7 separate regions of the Homo sapiens genome follow, and regions 2, 3, 4, 5, 6 and 7 are each linked to region 1. The links are contacts of gene promoters, found by promoter capture Hi-C in blood cells and fetal thymus (Javierre and others, 2016). All regions are on one chromosome and are shown on one strand. Each heading gives the region's core, a stretch centred on a gene start or on the middle of the fragment in contact. The rest is flanking DNA. Distances are from core to core; before and after follow the strand shown.

What was found. The method cuts DNA at HindIII sites, captures the fragments that hold promoters and counts their contacts. A CHiCAGO score of 5 or more calls a contact.
Region 2: a contact is called between the fragment with the promoter of RP9 here and the fragment with the promoter of BMPER in region 1, in 5 of 17 cell types (naive B cells, M2 macrophages, total B cells and 2 more). The highest score is 7.1, in naive B cells.
Region 3: a fragment that was not itself captured here is called in contact with the fragment with the promoter of BMPER in region 1 in 1 of 17 cell types (M0 macrophages); the score reaches 5.2 in M0 macrophages.
Region 4: a contact is called between a fragment that was not itself captured here and the fragment with the promoter of BMPER in region 1, in 1 of 17 cell types (total CD4 T cells). The highest score is 5.2, in total CD4 T cells.
Region 5: a contact is called between a fragment that was not itself captured here and the fragment with the promoter of BMPER in region 1, in 15 of 17 cell types (naive B cells, naive CD8 T cells, naive CD4 T cells and 12 more). The highest score is 13.7, in naive B cells.
Region 6: a fragment that was not itself captured here is called in contact with the fragment with the promoter of BMPER in region 1 in 7 of 17 cell types (naive B cells, M1 macrophages, total CD4 T cells and 4 more); the score reaches 7.5 in naive B cells.
Region 7: a fragment that was not itself captured here is called in contact with the fragment with the promoter of BMPER in region 1 in 5 of 17 cell types (endothelial precursors, M1 macrophages, megakaryocytes and 2 more); the score reaches 8.1 in endothelial precursors.

Annotation. Positions count from the first base shown.
Region 1 is chr7:33,904,190-33,906,833 of GRCh38, reverse strand. BMPER (BMP binding endothelial regulator) reads right to left here and starts at 1,295. Exons shown (of 15, transcript NM_001365308.1): 1 at 1,088-1,295; 2 at 1-16. The coding sequence starts at 1,220. The HindIII fragment of the contact is 6,002 bases long and covers 1-2,644 here.
Region 2 is chr7:33,108,094-33,110,737 of GRCh38, reverse strand. It overlaps RP9 (RP9 pre-mRNA splicing factor), which reads left to right and starts at 1,334. Exons shown (of 6, transcript NM_203288.2): 1 at 1,334-1,517. The coding sequence starts at 1,366. RefSeq lists silencers at 959-1,438, 1,449-1,678. The HindIII fragment of the contact is 9,627 bases long and covers 1-2,644 here.
Region 3 is chr7:33,147,254-33,149,897 of GRCh38, reverse strand. All of the region lies in intron 2 of BBS9 (Bardet-Biedl syndrome 9), which reads right to left. Among named protein-coding and RNA genes, the nearest start is that of BBS9, 19 kb to the right of the region's middle. The HindIII fragment of the contact is 1,390 bases long and covers 643-2,032 here.
Region 4 is chr7:33,170,389-33,173,032 of GRCh38, reverse strand. The region is part of intron 4 of BBS9 (Bardet-Biedl syndrome 9); the gene reads right to left. Among named protein-coding and RNA genes, the nearest start is that of BBS9, 42 kb to the right of the region's middle. The HindIII fragment of the contact is 3,003 bases long and covers 1-2,644 here.
Region 5 is chr7:33,190,420-33,193,063 of GRCh38, reverse strand. The region is part of intron 5 of BBS9 (Bardet-Biedl syndrome 9); the gene reads right to left. Among named protein-coding and RNA genes, the nearest start is that of BBS9, 62 kb to the right of the region's middle. The HindIII fragment of the contact is 1,545 bases long and covers 547-2,091 here.
Region 6 is chr7:33,206,952-33,209,595 of GRCh38, reverse strand. All of the region lies in intron 5 of BBS9 (Bardet-Biedl syndrome 9), which reads right to left. Among named protein-coding and RNA genes, the nearest start is that of BBS9, 79 kb to the right of the region's middle. The HindIII fragment of the contact is 2,229 bases long and covers 244-2,472 here.
Region 7 is chr7:33,260,517-33,263,160 of GRCh38, reverse strand. The region is part of intron 6 of BBS9 (Bardet-Biedl syndrome 9); the gene reads right to left. Among named protein-coding and RNA genes, the nearest start is that of BBS9, 130 kb to the right of the region's middle. The HindIII fragment of the contact is 884 bases long and covers 864-1,747 here.

The sequences.
Region 1 (2,644 bases), core at 46-2,545:
CATTTTGCAACAGAACCTGAAATTCAGGGGGGAAAAATGTTTCATTTAAAGTTAGCTTAGCAGCATGATTTCAACATTTAAAATTTTTACACTAATCCTTTTTGAAACCTCTACCCAAACTTCAGAATTCTTAATGTGGTTTAAATTATTAAATTCACCAAAGCAAAACCTCTGCCCCCAACTCCATTTTCAATAATTTTATTTAAACAGGTTCAAAAAAGAAAAGACTATGATATAGGGATAAATTATCTGTTCTCAGATGGTCTAAGCACAATTCCAAGTATTTCACTGGATTTTTAATAACACTCCTCCTTTATGAAGATATTTCAACTAAGCACACAGCCCCATACGCAAAGAAAAAAATAAAAAATAAAATTTAAAAAAACCCTCAAATTGGGGCAGATTTTAAATTGACCAAAACTCAGAACTGAGTCAATAAACAGGCCTTTCTATGAATCTGTCTCGCATTGTCTTAGGTTTAAATCACTTTTTGAAACGCAATCCCCTTTTCCCTTCTCTTAGAAATTGACTCCATATTTTCTTTTCTGCACCAGGTGTCAGTAAAGTATGTCCTTCAGAATAGCAGCTGAGGTCTTCACCTGCCTGAAAACATATAATTATTATATCCGGCTATTAGTGCCCTTTTTAAATGATAGTTTCTTTAAATTCAAGGTCTTGAGAGCCAGTGCTTTAAAAAGCACTCCTAGCACAGTGGATGTATTGCAACCCCAAAGATGAGAAAGGAAGATGTGCGGAAAACTGCACAAATTTTTTTCCTGAGTTCTACAGAGGGAAAGATTAAAATAAAAGTTGAGGAAAGCATTAAAAATAAATAAAATAATTTCTCAAATTCAAATAGAAGAATGTCTATTATTACTACATTGAAGGCAACAGCCTCTCAGCCCGCAACCTCTTCACCAGCCTTCCCAGCCCTCCCGGGGCTTCGCTTCATCCCCATCGACCAGCGCAGGGCAAGCGCCAAGGTGCGCGCTCCCCACCCTCCCATCCCCGGGGCAAGCCAGCGCCACCTTTCCCAGGTACCAAACCGGCGTCCCGGAGGGCCGGTCCCTCCCGCCCCCTCCCCTACCTGTCAAGAAGGAGGAAGCCAGAGACATGGGGACCCCCGAGCAATTGAGTAGCAGCAAGACGCAGCACGTAATCCCAGGCGAGCGGCGGCAGTAACGCTCAGCCAGAGCCCCGACGCCGGAGAACCAGAGCATCGTCACCTGGAGGGAATCCCTGGCGACTGCAGGTCCCGCGCCGCCGCCTCTGCTCAGCTGCCGCAGCTCACAGTCGAAAAGGGCTCTCAGCCGGCGTGTCGGGAGACCGTCCGCGAAGGAGGGAGGCGGGCGCCCGAGAGCTGGGGGGCGGGGGGGTGTGAGGGAGGGCGGGGGGAGAGACCAAGGTGTGGGGGCGCCCGGGGAGGAGGGGTCCTGCGGCCAGGCTCCTCCGATGCGGCTTTTTTTTTTTTTTTCCTGAGGGAGTTGCTTGCAGTGGCTTAGCAGTCAGCCCCTCAGCGCCGGAGAGGGGGCCAGGAGGAAGGGGTGTTGCGGCAGCCGGAGATAGACTGAGAGGAGCTGCGGCGCTGCCGACTGCGCACTGCCGCTCAGCCGCCGCCCGGGCTGCCGCTACTGTTTCGGGGGCTGTCGCTGTCGCTGCCGCAGCGTCCTCCACTCCCGCACTCCTCACCTCCTGCCAGCCCCGCCGGCTCTCGGCCCTCCCGGAGCGCGCTCGCTCCGCCGCAACAGACGTGGGCTCACCGGGCGCCTCCCGGAACCCGCTGGGGGCGCCCGGGCGCAGGAGGGACTGCGCGATAGCTGCAGCGGGAACTCTCTCGGCCCAGCTTCCAGTTCCCCAGCCCCTCCAGGGAGGCCAGGGCCCCAGGGCGCGGACCAGAGCCGAGAAGGCGCGTCTCCACTGTCCGGGCGAGCGCGGCTCCTCCTCCCTTTCTTGGGGGAGCCCCGGGGATGCCGCAGCACTAGCGCTCAGGCCCGGGTGCCCCAATCCAGCGAGGGAGCAGCAAACGGGACGCAGGGGCGCCCCACCACCCTGCTCGCTCCCGGGTGCCCCACCTTTGGGAAGGAGCGACACACCCGGGGCAGTAGGGCCCCCGCAACTTTTCATGCCCTGCTTTGCTTCCCTCTGGCGGGGGCGCGACAGCGAACTCAGGGGGCTGAGCGGACAGAGGGGCAAGTGGCCTTAGAGATGTGTTCTGTGCTTAGCTGTCTGCGCGTCCTGACACTAGGGATGACCGAAGTTGAAACACACACAAGGTCGATTTAAAAACGTACCGAGGCAAACGCCTTTCGTCCTTAAAAAATGAACAGTCGCTCCGAGACTCCTCCCTTCCAATCTCGGGCGGACCGGGGCGGGGAGGTGGTGTTTGACTAATCATTCATTCACCCGAAAAGAGGGAGGAACCCCCGCCCCACCGCTCATCTCTGGCGGGGGCCGCCGCGCGGCGGCCTCTGCAGCTCGGAGCTCCGTCGCTCTCTCAGCCCGGCTGCGCCCTCTCGCCTCTGCAGCACTGGGTGTCGGGGAGTCAGCTCCTGTGATCCCCCTGCTGAATCGCCGCCTCCTCCCCACGCAGTGGCACCCTCTACTCAAAAGGGGTGCAATCGCAGAGAGATGATTTTTGTAACCA
Region 2 (2,644 bases), core at 85-2,584, 800 kb after region 1:
TGAGGCCAGGAGTTCAAGGCCAGCCTAAGCAGCATAGCGAGACCCCGTCTCTACAAAATAAAAAACTTTAAAAAGTTAAAAAGAATTTTGGAAAGAGCAGTATCACATAGAAAATTAATGAGACTGTATCATCGAGGAGAGCCATGTCCTAAAAGAAAAAAAAAAAAGCTATTCATCATGATGCAAGACTTCAAAATATGTTAATCATCATAAAAGTTGGGCAGTTCATGTGGACAATCGCCATGCAATTGCCCATAATCTATCCCTGCAATACACTTTTTCTATGTTGAATTTTCTTTTTAGTTTGCTTTCGTTTTTCTATTTTCTCTTTTAGCTTTTTCATTATTGTAAATTGTCAGCATTATGTTTTACAATTCACTATGCTATGTATTACATCTTAACATCATTTCTAATACTGGAGGCATCAACTATATAAAGACTTTTAGAGAGTTCAAATTTGTTTTATGCATTTTTTGCAAATATGACTCAATCAAAGCTCATTATTACAATGGTGACTGTGTAAGCATTCTACATATATGCAAAAATGTAGAAATTTCCTCGATAAATAAATAAGTGTCTTTTCTGTACATCTGCATTTGTGAAAGATGAAATTTCTCAGGATCTTGGCTCCTCGGGTGACTGGCACAGTGGTGACGTCATGGTGACCCATCCTGTCAAAAGAGTTAGGTTGTCTCTCATGGTATATCAGATGACCGCAGTTATAAAGCTGGGTGCACACTATTACCGAACATAATTATATGTTTATACATTTCACTTTTTGAACACTTTTTTTTTTTTTTTTCTGAGAGACAATCTCGCTTTTTCGCCCAGACTGGAGTGCAGGGGCACCATCTCGGCTCACTGCAACCTCTGCCTCCTGGGTTCAAGCAATTCTCCTGCCTCAGCCACCCAAGTAGCTGGGACTACTGGCGCCCGCCACCACGCCTGGCTAATTTGAACATTTTTTTATGAATACATTTCATCTGCTCATCCCTATGTGACTGTTGCTAGTATACCTGAGGTGGGTGTGGCCGGGCGGGAACCTCCAGGCTCCCAACTAGCGCCTCGCCCCGCTTCGGCTCCAGCTAGGCGGCGCTCCCCACCCACCCGCAGCAGCCCGCCTGGCGGCTGGGCCCGAGACCCGGAGCCCCTGACTTGGGGCCCGACGCGGGGAGGCGGGGATCGGGTGGCCGAGGCTGAGACTTCGGGGCCGCCGGGGTGAGTTGCGGGGCGGCGGCGGGAGGGGGCGCTGCGAAGCCCCGCGACCGCCGCGCGGAGGAAGTGCTCTCTTGGCTGCCGCCGCCGCCGCCGCCGCCGCCGGAGCCGCGCCGCGGGGGTTGCCCGAGCGGCGCTGCGGGGGCTGACATGTCGTCCCGGCCTGGGCGCGAGGACGTGGGGGCTGCGGGCGCGCGGCGGCCGCGTGAGCCGCCGGAGCAGGAGCTGCAGCGACGTCGGGAGCAGAAGCGGCGGCGACACGACGCGCAGCAGCTGCAGCAGCTCAAGCACCTGGAGTCCTTGTGAGTCCCGAGCTGCCGTCCGCGCGCGGCCAGTCTTCTGAAGCCAGGGGCCCGGGGCGCGGGACGCCGCGGTGGGCGCTAGGCCGGGTCCTCCGAGCCCCCGCGAGCAGGCAGGGGGGCTGGGCCCGGCAGGAGCCTGGTGCGGGCGACCGATGTCGGGCGCCGCGGTCAAGGACTTGAAGTCCATCCTCCTGGCGGGGCGTTCAGGGAGCCAACTGCCGCTCGGCACCAAGCAGAATCTGACTTGGGAGGCCCTGCGCTTCCCTAGCTCCAGGGGGTTCCAGGAGAGTCCAAATGACCCGGGAGAGTGTGGTGTAAAGAAGATTCAAATGTAGGGGAAGGAAATATGGTTTCCCTCTACCCTTCTAAGTTCTTAAGCTGGGCCACAAATTAAATTGTCATAAGACAGATTAACAGGAGAAAAACTTTTAATTATGTACCCGTGCACTAGAGGGCCACAAAAGTGGGAGACAAAGAAGGGCCAGGGAATAGGGGCGTGGGCCTTTTGGGGCGTGGTGGAGACCTTTTGGAAGGGTGATGGGGGAAATGTATGGTGAATAAAGGTTGCTTTGTTATCCCGATGAGGCGCTCAGGCGATAAAAGTTGCCCCCAAGCAGCTGTCTTCCTGATACAGATACATTTACTACAGAAAATTTCCTTTATAGGTGTAAATTTCTGTTTACAACAGGCGAGTCGAAAAATAATAAGAACAAAAGGAAAAAAAGCAGTCATACTTTATTTTAGGCAGTTGAGGGGTAGCTGAATAAGTTATCCTGTGTTGTTTGGTTCTGTTACTTATAGCTCAAAGTCATCAATATGCCAGGGTGGCATGTTTGGGGATGGTGCATTCTTGTCTTTTGCAGTCATTTATCAGGGTGGCGTTTCCTAAATTCTAACACAGACCTCGAGTGGAAAGTTCAGGCAGCAACTCTTTCAGTTCTTGTCCGTGATTCTATAATTAGCTGCATAAAACAACCTTTTCTAAGTGTGGCATTCACTCAGTTATTCAAGAATTCGTTTCTGTTTTAGCCACTTCTAGTTACCTGTGCTAAGTAGGTGTTAAGTATAGCCTAACGCTGCCTCCTTGAATATTTTAAGTTTAGCCTAAAAGTTTCTCTGTACTTAGT
Region 3 (2,644 bases), core at 88-2,587, 760 kb after region 1:
TAGCCCTATCTTCAGGGATAAGAGGAGGTCAGGATGGCCAAGTCCACATGGTAACAAGCTAACCCACTGAAACAAAATGTATATGTACGACTATTAAAATACTTTGCAGGACTAGTATAGTAACCAGATCTCAGATAAGTCTGACTCTCACAGATTTCAAGCTACAATTAAATATGGGATTCCCCAGGAATTAATGAACATGCAGGCATTAAATGAAAAGCCATTAGTCAGTCTTATTTGCTCTCTACTCCAATTCTAGAAATAAACTTTCCCTCCAGGCCACAGGTTGGCATGTAATCTAAATTGTATTATTCAGATCCTCTCTCTCTCCCTCATTCTCACTATCTCTCTCAAGAGTCTGAATCTTGAGTTGAGAGAATTAGGAAAGTAAGTGCCATTTAAATGCATGGGGTGTTCAATTTCAATTGTACTATCAAGATTAACAAGGAATCCTTCTGTGTTTTACTCGGCTTCTTCTAAAGAATTTCAGGATCCCTGTAACTCTTCTCTCACTGTCTGATCACCTAAAAAAAAGTAGAGGTCAACTGACATTACTGTTTCAACCTCCCAACTTGACCTGCAAATTTCTCTACATCGGTATACATTCTTACCTTCTTTCCTCTGGCACTGTGGAAAAAAGCTTCCACATCTGTCCAAGGTTAATCCTTCCATCTGCACACCTGATCCCATCTCTGACTGTCCTCTCTGGGTCCCTGCTCCATCAATGAAAGCCTCTATTCTACACATTGAATTTTTCCCACTTCCCTTGACCCTCCATGGTCTCCAAATCATCATCCTCCCTTCTTCAATTCACAGCTAAGTTTCTTTAAAGAGCCATAAATAGTCTCCCCACCTCCCACTCACTCCCCATTCATACATTGCAAATCTAGATCTCATTACCATTGTGCCCACACATCCACTCTTGTCATGGACACTAATGAACCACTTGCTGCTAAAGAGCATGAAAACTTTTAGGCCAGGCTCAGTGGCTCACGCCAATAATCCCAGCACTTTGGGAGGCCAAGGCAGGAGGATCACTTGAGCCCAGGAAGTTCAAGACCAGCCTGGGCAACACAAGGAGACACTGTCTGTACAAAAAAAATAAAAATAAAAATTAGCCAGGCATGGTGGGGCACACCTGGGAGGTTGAGGCTGCAGTGAGCCATGATCATGCCACTGCACTCCATCCTGGGCAGCAGAGCAAGACCTGTCTCCATTAAAAAAAAAAAAAAAAAGGCCAGGTGCAGTGGCTCATGCCTGTAATCCCAGCACTTTGTGAGGCCGAGGCAGGTGGATCACCCAAGGTCAGGAGTTCGCGACCAGCCTGGCCAACATGGCAAAACCCTGTCTCTACTAAAAATACAAAAATTAGCTGGGTGTGGTGGCAGGCACCTGTAATCCCAGCTACTTGGGAGGCTAAGGCAGGAGAATTGCTTGAACCCGGGAGGTGGAGGTTGCAGTGAGCCAAGATCACACCACTGCACTGCTTCCCAGTTACCAGCCTAATTAGTTTTCCTGCCTCTCTGCCTGCTCTTTTCAGAATCTACTACTCTTCCCACACTTCCCCTGTTGATCCTCATATTCTCCAGGTTACAGTCCTATACCTCCTCCCCTCTTATTTCAACTTCTCTCCCTGTGCATTTTCACCTGTTCTCAGAGCTCCAAATATAAACACCATATTGTTCATCCCCAAATCTCTACCTCTATTCTGTAAACTAGACATTCCTATCTTAAACAGAGCATATCCAAAACTGCTCTTGTTAACTTTCCATTCTATAAGATCAACAAAAATAATTCTCAAACTTGAGAATGCCAGCATTCAATTTTGGAACTTATCAAAAATTAGGAAACCTAAGTCACATCACCCCACCTACCCCTGGAGAATACAATCTTATAGCATCTCATGTGTCTGGGATAGAAAATCTCCATATATAATAATCACCCCACAATATTATGACACAGGCTTTGGAACACAATGATGAGTGTTGTCTATGTGGAACACACATATGTAATGATTTTTGTATAGCAAGCTTCGGAAAACAGAGGAAGCTGCTCACAGCTCACCACAAACTGTGAGGGAAGCAGTATCTCAGCATATTCGTAACCTACTGGTAGCACCCCAGTAGTGAGCTCTAATAGAAATGAATGAGTGTACAGTATGTTATTCAGATAATCAGTAAGTATAGTTTCCAACCAAGCTGAACTTTAGATAGTTTAGGCAGAAGTGGGTTTGAAATTGTTCTCTCTGGCAGGTATTTCTGTGGCATGACTCTTACATGGCCAAATAACTGGGGCATCACATGCTTTAACAAATAGCGGGGGCAGAGGCAGGGTTGAGGAACCTTCCAATATCCTCTGAATAGAAGGCCTTCCCATCTCCTATCAGTGGAAAATCAGGGACCAAATTTTCCTTCAAAACAACTTAGTAGGTGCTCTGTGCAGTTTAGTACTCCCACTCTTCTGCTTTACCAATACAATTTTCTCCTTTCACATTTTCCTGCAGATCCCACTGTTTTAATTATAGGCAAGAAAAACAATTTTTAAAAAATGTAAGGGGATAATATTTATATGCAGTAAACAAAAGAATAGTTATAATAAGTTTTCTTTTTAAGAGGGTAATGACTAGATCACAAAAAAAAAGCCC
Region 4 (2,644 bases), core at 41-2,540, 730 kb after region 1:
TTTCATTGGCTATCTTGAAACCCTTCTGCAAAAGAAATTTACATCTATTAAGGAAATCACCATTTTTAAGGATGTCTGCCTGTGTATATTAGAAACTCTTCCCATTGTTTTAAATTGGCATAAGTCACACCTTTGATTAAGGTGCCTTTCTGGCCATGTTGTCTTAACTGAACTTTTATGGGAGCACCATTTTTTCCTTGGTTTGAGACAAATGATGATACAATATTTAGGCCTAAAATCTTAGCTATGTACATATGGAATATAATTTTTTGTTGTTGTACCTAAGAGTTATTTTAGAAATGCAAATTTGTTGCCTGGTTAACAATTGCTTAGGGCAATGAAACAAGTAACTGGAAGATTAATAGACCAAATAGGGAAAAGGAAAACTATTTAAAAGCTAGCAAATGAAAATCTTTCATGTCCATGTGTGTTATGTGTCTGTGATAATATTTGGTAAATAAAGCAAATTCTAAAATTGTTGCTAAAATAGGAATAGCTTCAAAATTATCAGTTAAATATAACAAGATATTTGCTTGATTGACTGTGAGCTGTTTTTGGTTTAGAGCCTCTGGATTTGGGGGTCTGCATAGGTGGACATGACGAGGTCTAGAGTCGTGTTCTTTTCATTTTTTTTTTTTATTATTTTTTTTTTGAGACAGAGTCTCGCTCTGTCACCCAGGCTGGAGTGCAGTGGCACGATCTTGGCTCACTGCAAGCTCCACCGCCTGGGTTAATGCCATTCTCCTGCCTCAGCCTCCCGAGTAGCTGGGACTACAGGCGCCCGCCACCATGTCCAGCTAATTTTTTGTATTTTTTAGTAGAGATGGGGTTTCACGGTGTTAGCCAGGATGATCTCAATCTCCTGACTTCATGATCGGCCCACCTCGGCCTCCCAAAGTGCTGGGATTACAGGTGTGAGCCACCACACCCGGCCTAGAGGCATGTTCTTAGTGCCTAGACCATCAGCTACAAGCCAGAACCAAGCCCAATATGCTCCCTTCTCCCCTGCTTTCCTGCTTGCCTACTGGCTATTTGGGGAGGGGTTGAATCCTCCAGATATAGTCTTCACAGCCCTGTCTTCTATCCTGACCATTGCACCTGGTATGTCAGGACTCAGAGAGGCCTTGACCTTCATAAGCCTCCTGGGTACCATGAGGCTACTTGGCACCCAGAATGACTAAGGGAAGACATTAAGGAGGGTACCTGTGTCATATTTTCAAAATTATTTTCAGTAATTTAAAATCTTCAGGTCATGTTATATTAAATTAAATAATAATCATAAAATGTCTGAGTCATTTATAAGTTAAAATATTGAAACATTAATTATTAAACATGAGTTTGTCTGTATACGTTGATGTTATTTTTATATGATACAGAAAAGCTACATATATTTAGGTCTGTTAAAAAACAATAATTTGAAGAAAAATCTTTCTAAAAACTTAAAAAAATAGTTTTTATCACAAATACTGATATAAAATTAGTTCGAAATTATTTTCTAGGGTTTTAATCAGAAATTAAGGTTACTAAGAGTTAAAATTTTAGTTGATATATGTAATTAAAGCTACTAGAGATGAAACAATTTTGTATACATAGTGTATAAACAAAAGCAAGATATGTTTCAGCTTTCTACATATGGCTAGCCAGTTTTCCCAGCACCATTTATTAAATAGGGAATCCTTTCCCCACTGCTTGTTTTTCTCAGGTTTGTCAAAGATCAGATAGTTGTAGATATGCGGCGTTATTTCTGAGGGCTCTGTTCTGTTCCATTGATCTATATCTCTGTTTTGGTACCAGTACCATGCTGTTTTGGTTACTGTAGCCTTGTAGTATAGTTTGAAGTCAGGTAGTGTGATGCCTCCAGCTTTGTTCTTCTGGCTTGGGATTGACTTGGCGATGCGGGCTCTTTTTTCATTCCATATGAACTTTAAAGTAGTTTTTTCCAGTTCTGTGAAGAAAGGCATTGGTAGCTTGATGGGGATGGCATTGAATCTGTAAATTACCTTGGGCAGTATGGCCATTTTCATGATATTGATTCTTCCTACCCATGAGCATGGAATGTTCTTCCATTTGTTTGTATCCTCTTTTATTTCCTTGAGCAGTGGTTTGTAGTTCTCCTTGAAGAGGTCCTTCACATCCCTTGTAAGTTGGATTCCTAGGTATTTTAATCTCTTTGAAGCAATTGTGAATGGCAGTTCACTCATGATTTGGCTCTCTGTTTGTCTGTTGTTGGTGTATAAGAATGCTTGTGATTTTTGTACATTGATTTTGTATCCTGAGACTTTGCTGAAGTTGCTTATCAGCTTAAGGAGATTTTGGGCTGAGACAATGGGGTTTTCTAGATATACAATCATGTCATCCGCAAACAGGGACAATTTGACTTCCTTTTTTCCTAATTGAATACCCTTTATTTCCTTCTCCTGCCTAATTGCCCTGGCCAGAACTTCCAACACTATGCTGAATAGGAGTGGTGAGAGAGGGCATCCCTGTCTTGTGCCAGTTTTCAAAGGGAATGCTTCCAGTTTTTGCCCATTCAGTATGATATTGGCTGTGGGTTTGTCATAGATAGCTCTTATTATTTTGAAATACATCCCATCAATACCTAATTTATTGAGAGTTTTTAGCATGAAGGGTTGTTGAATTTTGT
Region 5 (2,644 bases), core at 70-2,569, 710 kb after region 1:
ATAATATGGATAGGATGTAAAAGGGATAGATCTAAAATGACTGTAAGAGACTACTTGCTATGGTCTGAACGTCATCCAAAATTCCTGTGTTGAAAATTAATTCCCATTGTAGTGGTATTAAGAGGTGTGGCCTTTTGGGAAGTGATTAAGTAATGAGAGCTTCACCCTCACGAATGGATTAGTGCCTTGTGAAAGAATGGAGGGAAGTAGCTTAGGCCCTTTGCTCTTCTGCTCCTCTGTTCTTCTGCCATGTGAGGACACCAAGGTGGTGCCATCTATGAGGAACAGGCCCTAGCTGCACACTGAACCTGCTGGCACCTTGATTTTGGACTTCCCAGCCTCCAGACCTGTGAGAAATAAATGTCTGTTCTTTATAAATTACCCAGTCTCAGGTGTTTTGGTATAGCAACACAAATGGACTAGGACACTACTACGTGTCAGGAAATCTCAGGTTTAATGTAACGAAAGTCATTTAAGAGCATTATTCCAAGTATATAGACTGAAAAAGTAACCTGAAAAGCAAGTTAGAAAGAATAAGCAGAAGCTTATGTGCAGTTCAAGAGGTCTTTCCCCAAATATAAAATGTGCACAGTTTTTATATTATTCTATATATTTTTGCCATCTTAAAGGAAAGACAAGTTTTGATTTCAAGTGCACGAATTGCAGGTGAAATGTATCATCACTAAATATTTAGGAATATCTTATAATATGCCACTTTTCCTATTTGCAGCTTGACCCAAATCACGCAGATTTTTTTCTGTCTTCTAGTAAATTCATATATTTTAATACAAAATAAACACCAATATTGAATAAATTACTCAACTGACTTCAAGATATATGCATATAAAGTAAAGGCTTTTCCATTTAACATTTATTGTCATAACTTGCTTGCATTCCATTATACAGCACCAGACTTGACATGATAAACATGCTTTTCACTGGTTGGGCCCTTTAGGTGGTAAGATGACTAAATTCCAGAAACTGTAAAATTACTCTAAAATTACTCTGGGTTAGCTCAAGTTGAAACATTCTGGATTATATTCTACTGTCCACATATATGTTTTCAGTGGTTGCGTTTGGGAGGTGGTGCTTAATCATTTACTTTTTTTTTTTTTACCGGTACATATGTTTTAAATATGCCTCTGTGAACAAGACTACTTTTATAACAAAAGTATATACATCCTCATGTGAAGAATACTGAAAGTGAGGAAAAGATAAAGTAAAAATCATAACTTACATTATTTCAAGTTTCAATCTCTTCTGTAAATAATTTGAGACATGCCCCCGAATTTAAATATCTATGCATACCAAGCCTAAAATCATGACAAATGATTTTGCAAAGCACTCAATTAAATTCAATTACAACAAATCCTCAAAATACACACAAACATTTCAAGCAATTATCCCCACACACTGTACCAGAATGAGGCTGCATTCAGCCCAGGACAGAGCATATCCTTTAACTGCTTAGGCCCTGCCTTCTCCAATTCATATACACACCTGAGGGCACACTCTCAAATCACCACTGCTGGCCTCTCCTGTCAGTTCTAAGGTAGTACCACAGGGAGGTCCTAGGAGAGAAAGTGAAACCAAAAGCAAGGTGGATATTTACAGTTTTTTGGCCACCCAGCACCTATTTCACTCTCTTTCATTAATGCTACAGAACCAGGTTAAAGGTGACCCCTTTATATATTGACCCCATGTTGTTTACTTCTTCATTCAGACTGACCATTAACTCAAAGCTCACGGATACCAAATTCAAATTTTTATATCAATTGCTTTAAACATAGCCCAAATAAGGATATTTTCAGCCTGTTTTGCATACCCTGAAAAACTGCACCCAACATCCACTAGCTACAGGTAAAACAAACCCTGAGCATGTAAAAGACTGTATGTTGCTGCTGCCCTCCCCAGTCCTGCTTCTCAGCAACCTGGACACCTAAGCCCCACTCTAGGTCCTCTCTCCCCAGAAAGCTCCCCTGACCTCTGCCCCTTCTGGGTTGAGGCCACCTCACTCTCTCTGGAAGGTCTCTTGCTGTAAGGGACCTCCTCTTGAATGCAATCCTGCCAAAGCACCACGCAAATAAAGCTTATTGTGTTCTACTGCCATCTGATAGCCATGTCTTTTTTCTTGATCACCTCCAAAGTCCTCAGATTCACCACAGTTAATTATTCACTGATATTCCTCTGGAAATCCACCCCTCTTCCCTCTCCACTCTTACCCTTAGTGGTAAGAGGACTTCCCACACCTGTGGCTCAGGCTCAAGTTAATCACATTCCTTTGGTGGCAATGATTGGTTCAGAGATGGCCCAACCAGAGCCTGTGAGTTGGAAACAGACTTTTGTTGAGCCTTCTACGAGAAAGGAAGAACCTCTTTTACATGGACTAGAATGTGACAAGTAAAGATTTAAAGCTGCTATAGCCATCATGTAACCAGAAGGAAATAGCCTATCCCAGGAAATGGAAGCAAGAGATGAAAAGAGAGAAACCAGATCTGATCACAGAGAAGGCTCAAGTGACGTTAGCCAGTCAACTTCCTATTCTTGCTTAAGCCAACTGTTAGTTGCAACCAAGGGAGTCTTCAGTTTTACCAAAGACAAGGTTGGAAAGAAAACAAAAGTACATCTAAATCCACATGAAAAA
Region 6 (2,644 bases), core at 109-2,608, 700 kb after region 1:
CTGAGAAAGTGGAGAAAAGGGAACCTTCTAACACTATTGATGGGAATAATTAGTACAATCACTGTGAAGAACAGTGAGGAAGTTCCACAAAAAATCAAAAATAGAGCTACCATATGACCCAGCAATCCCACTCCCAGTTACACACCCAAAAGAACGAAAATCAGTATATCAAAGAGATATCTGCACTCCTATGTTTCTTGCAGCACTGTTCACAATAGCCAAGATTTAGAAGCAACCTAAGCTTCCATCAACAGACAAATGGATAAAGAAAATGTGGTTACATATATACAATGGAATACTATTCAGCCATAAAAAGAATGAGATCCTGTCATTTGCAACAACATGAATGTAACTGAAGGTCATTATGTTAGGTGAAATAAGCCAGTCACAGAAAGACAAACTTCACATGTTCTCACTTATTTGTGGAGGCTAAAAATTAAAACAATTAAACTCACGGAGATAAAGAAAGATGATTACCAAAGTCTGAGAAGGGTAGTTGGGGGATGGGGAGGTAGAAATGGCTAAATGTACAAAAAAATAGAAAGAATAAATAAGATCTAATATTTGATAGCATAATAGGATGACTATAGTCAGTAATAATTTAATTGTACATTTTTAAATAACTAAAAGAGTCTAATTGGATCGTTTGTAATACAAAGGATAAATGCTTGAGGTGAGGATACTCCATTTACCCTGATGTGATTATGCATTGTATGCATATATCAAAATATCTCATGTACCCCATAAATATATATCCTACTATGTGCCCACAAAAATTAAAAATTAAAAAAAAAAACAGAATTTTCCTGAATTCAGAAAATAATAGTGGTCACCCACTTCCCCCTACCCTCCTAGAAAAAACATAAAACCACACTGAATCCATACTTTCTGCATTACTAGGAGAAAGAACATTTGCTGCCTTCACCATATGTAGAAGAAAAAAGAAACAAATTCCATGGCACTTCTACCATCAGCCCACTGCTACTACCACAAACTTCAGGGTATTGAAAGTGAGGAAAGAAAGGCTTATAAGATTCTGTGAAAAAGAACAGAAGAAAGCAAAGGACTTATGGAAGGCACAGACCCAACCACCCCAGAAGGAAAAGGTGAAACAATAAATGCAAAAATTCTCAACATGGGTTGGATCTACAAGTTCAAAGCTCTGGCTACAGAGAAGGAATTTGAAAGGGTGCAGCACTGGAAGTAGCAGCCTCTGGGAACACGAATACTTAGAGGAATTTGCTAGAAAAAGAAAACAGAGACAGAGGTTTGTTTATCATAGGGAAATGGTCAAAATCAATTCTGCAGCTACTTTAGATGTATTATAGACATGAGCAAATGAATATGTGGCTTGATGTTGAGAGCCAGATATTCACTTAGAAGAAACATATAAATACTGAATAGGGGATGGCAAAAAAGAATTATGTAGGAATGAACTGAAGTTGGATATAATGGTAGGAATGCATGACTTTTAAGTTATTTCTATGGGCTGGGCATGGTGGCTCACAACTGTAATCCCAGCACTTTGGGAGGCCAAGGCGGGTGGATCACCTGAGGTCAGGAGTTCAAGACCAGCCTGGCCAACATGGTGAAACCCCATCTCTACTAAAAATACAAAAAATAAGCCAGGCATGGTGGCGCACACCTATAATCCCAGCTACCCAGGAGGCTGAGGCAGGAGAATCGCTTGAACCCAGGAGGTAGAGGTTTCAGTGAGCAGAGATCACGCCATTGCACTCCAGCCTGGGTGACAGCACAAGACTCTATCTCAAAAAAAAAAAGTTATATCTATATGTAAGTGTACACATTTATGTGCACATGTGCATATATGTATATGTTTATGTACAGATATGTATATATGTATATACATGCACATATTTTCTAGCACTGTCCCTGAAAGGGGCTAAAAGTAAAGATACCATAGTAACAGGATCACACCTAGCATCTATATCTTGGTCTCTAATACTATATAGATGGCTGCAGCAGGATAGGTATCAGATTAGCCTGGAACATCTTACTATGCTAGAAAGTAAAGAAATGCTAACAAAAAAAAAAAAAAGAAGACATGTCACAAGGACACAGGAGCCAGCTTAAAGAGGCTCCCACTGGCCAAATCTGGGACAATTTAAGCATCAAAATTATTAGGTTCAGTATTGAATTAAAACTAACAGAAAAAAATTGAAATTCATGAATCCACATAATAAGCAGACAAATAAATAGGGGAGAAGAAAGATCTACTGCTTACAGTAGAAGATTGAGAACCAACTGACAAATGTGAAGGAAGTGCCAATTTGGAAATCATCATTTTGCAACTACCACAGTAAAGATTATTGCAGGCAAGAATTGCTAATGGGTTATCAATTCAAGGGGGAATGTTGATGAAAAGCAAAATATTTACATTTCCTTATTAGTTGCAAGGCATAAAACACCAGTAATTAGTAATTACACAGTGGAGAATTCAGGTAACAAGCTTAACCAGAAGATCAAAATTAATCATTAATGAGGATGCTTCTATGTGATAATATAGGAAGAATGCAATATCACCTATTCTTGACAGGATTTTGGACAACAATGTATAATCTTGATTTAATCACAGGGAAGTAAGAGACAAAATGAGAAAAAAAATTTAATGGTATGGGAGACT
Region 7 (2,644 bases), core at 56-2,555, 640 kb after region 1:
AAGACATAGAAGGTGATGACAAACTTAACAATAGCTTATAAAAAATAGATCTTATTAATATGAAAACGTAATATATATAAATTTCATTCATTTTATAAACATATAGTAGGGATCCAATACAAACATTAACAATGGAAAAACTACTACATAATCTATACTCATAAGGTGCTCCCACACTAGTTGTAGAGACTCATATACAGACAGCTAAGTATAACTCAGAGTATCCTGTGCTAATTAACAGAAGGTATGCACGTAGTACCAATAGTAACAAGTAATTGGGGGAGAAAAGATATGCTCTTGGTATAGGTTCAGGAAGAGAAAGCTAGGTTTTAAAGGATGAGTGAAAATTCTATCACGCTGGTAAAGAAGGAGAAGGCATTATGGCAAATCAAATAACAAATGCAAAGGCATGCAGCAGTAAAAGAGACATGAAAGGCCATGACAGGAGTTTAGGAGAGATGCATGACAGGGAGGAATGAGTCATGGGGCGCATGAAGTAAGAGGGAGAAGATCTCAGCCTTGTAAGACCATGCTACAAAATCCCACGGTCAGCTGCAGCCAATCTCTCTATACCATCTGAGATTGACCTTCAAAATCCCAAAGTCTCTAAAAGTGCAAAATAATTAGACCTCACATTCTGAACTCCAAATAGGATTGTTTTCCTATTCCCAATTCATAGCAACAGAAATAGTATGCGCTGGTGACTAGAACATCATCCCAAAGCTTGTCCTGCTATGGATCTAACCCTAGGCAATTAGTTACATAGGTGGTTCATTTCCTACAGAAACCAACCTGCCAAGGGATAATATAGATATTCATGAGATTGTTACAAAGGTCCAAAACTCTTTGAGCTGTTTGAAGCTTATATATATAACTATGGTCATTATTTTATCTAAGAAATAAGTGAGCCCCTAAAGCGGCCTTATTAACATTAAAACAGCAGGCAGAGGCACAGCCAAAATTGACTACTGATTTCCAAATCCAAACCATTTCTCTTCCTAAAAGACAACTCAGAAGAGTATTTTATTACTTAAACTTGACAGTAAAATTAGATGATGACAAACTTACAAGAGCATCTATTTTATGGTTCTTCCTTAATTCCTCTTAACTGTGACCAATAAAGTATGTAAAAATCTATTTCTAAAACCAAACAATTCCAAGCAGATTTGGAAATTCTGAAATAAAATATTTGGATCTTTTTTCTTACCACTCAAGTGTTCAGTAACATAAGCTACACAAAAAAGTTCCCTTGTCGAGATTGCTGAAAGAATAATCAGGGCCAATGTAACAAGATCTTATGAAAGAGTGCCATACATGTCTCTCAGAACAGAAAGGCACTAATCGCAACTACACCAAGTGCAGCTAAACGGTGGTGCTTTTTGACTCACTAACCACAAATGCTTCACAGGTCCTGTAGTGCACCAATAACAAACTCAACCACATAATTTAATACTCTTCCAAATTGCTTTGTAAAAACAGTAGCAGGTAACTAAAATATAGATTGAGGCATCACAGAGCACAAAAGTAAACCCTCCAAAATCATTTATTTTCAAAATAAACAGAACTGTCACCTCAGTGAGTGGCAGGAAGTTTTGGAACCTTGATATGTAACCCAGAGAACTTTACTAGAAATGGAAGCTCGAGACACAGAGCATTATTATGTTGATTTCAACTATAGCTAAAACATTCTTGACTATGCCGGGGAGAATCCTTTTCATTGAAAGATGCCAGTAACAAAACAGAAGCTTTCTTTATACACTTTTCACTCTTTTATCAGTTCTCATTGAACACCCACTTTCACCAAGGTACAGTGCTGGGCACTTCAGGGGATACAGAATTCCTGCCATCGAGGAGCACTGAGCTTAGTCAAGGAGAAAAACAAATGTTTACTATCAGTGAAAGCATAAGTAATACCTAAGGGAAGCACTGAAAAACTACTATGTAAATTGAGAAAAAGGAGATGTTGGTTACATCTAGGTCAGGGAAGAACTGAAGGGGAGCAGGGAGGCTTCTAGACATAATTTCCACGTGCAGAGAAAGAAGGAAAAGCACTTCAGACATAGGAGATAGACAGTATGTGGGAAAAAAAAAAAAGGAGAGAGAGAAAAACCCTTAACATATATGGAGACTACAAATATTTCCATTTGGTCAGAGCCAAAGATTGGAGAAGAATACTTCTTTTTAAAACAGTCAATTAAATTCAACAGAAACACTTTTAAATATTTATTTAAGGCTGATTATTTACTTAGTGATGTATTAGGAGCTATTGAGGGGTTGCTGGGGAAGGGGTATAGCAGACAGAAGGAGAGAAATAACACCCATGGCAGGTATACTCTTTTAGGGAGCCTCCCTACATTCAACTCTTAGAGGTCCCACCTCGAGGCCTCCTCAGCATCCTATGCAAAGCTCTGCTATAGCCTGTATGACAAATGGACTGAAGTAGCTGACTGACTTCCTGCCTCCTTGAATACTATTTGAGGATAAGAGGCACGTCTATTTGACTACATTTCCAGTACCTTGCACAGTGTATGGCACACAAGCCTGTTGAAAAATATTTGCTGAATGAATGACTGAATAAACAAACTGAATTATTCAGTCAGTGAAGAGATGTTTAACACAGATTCTTCTCTCAAGAACCTGATAA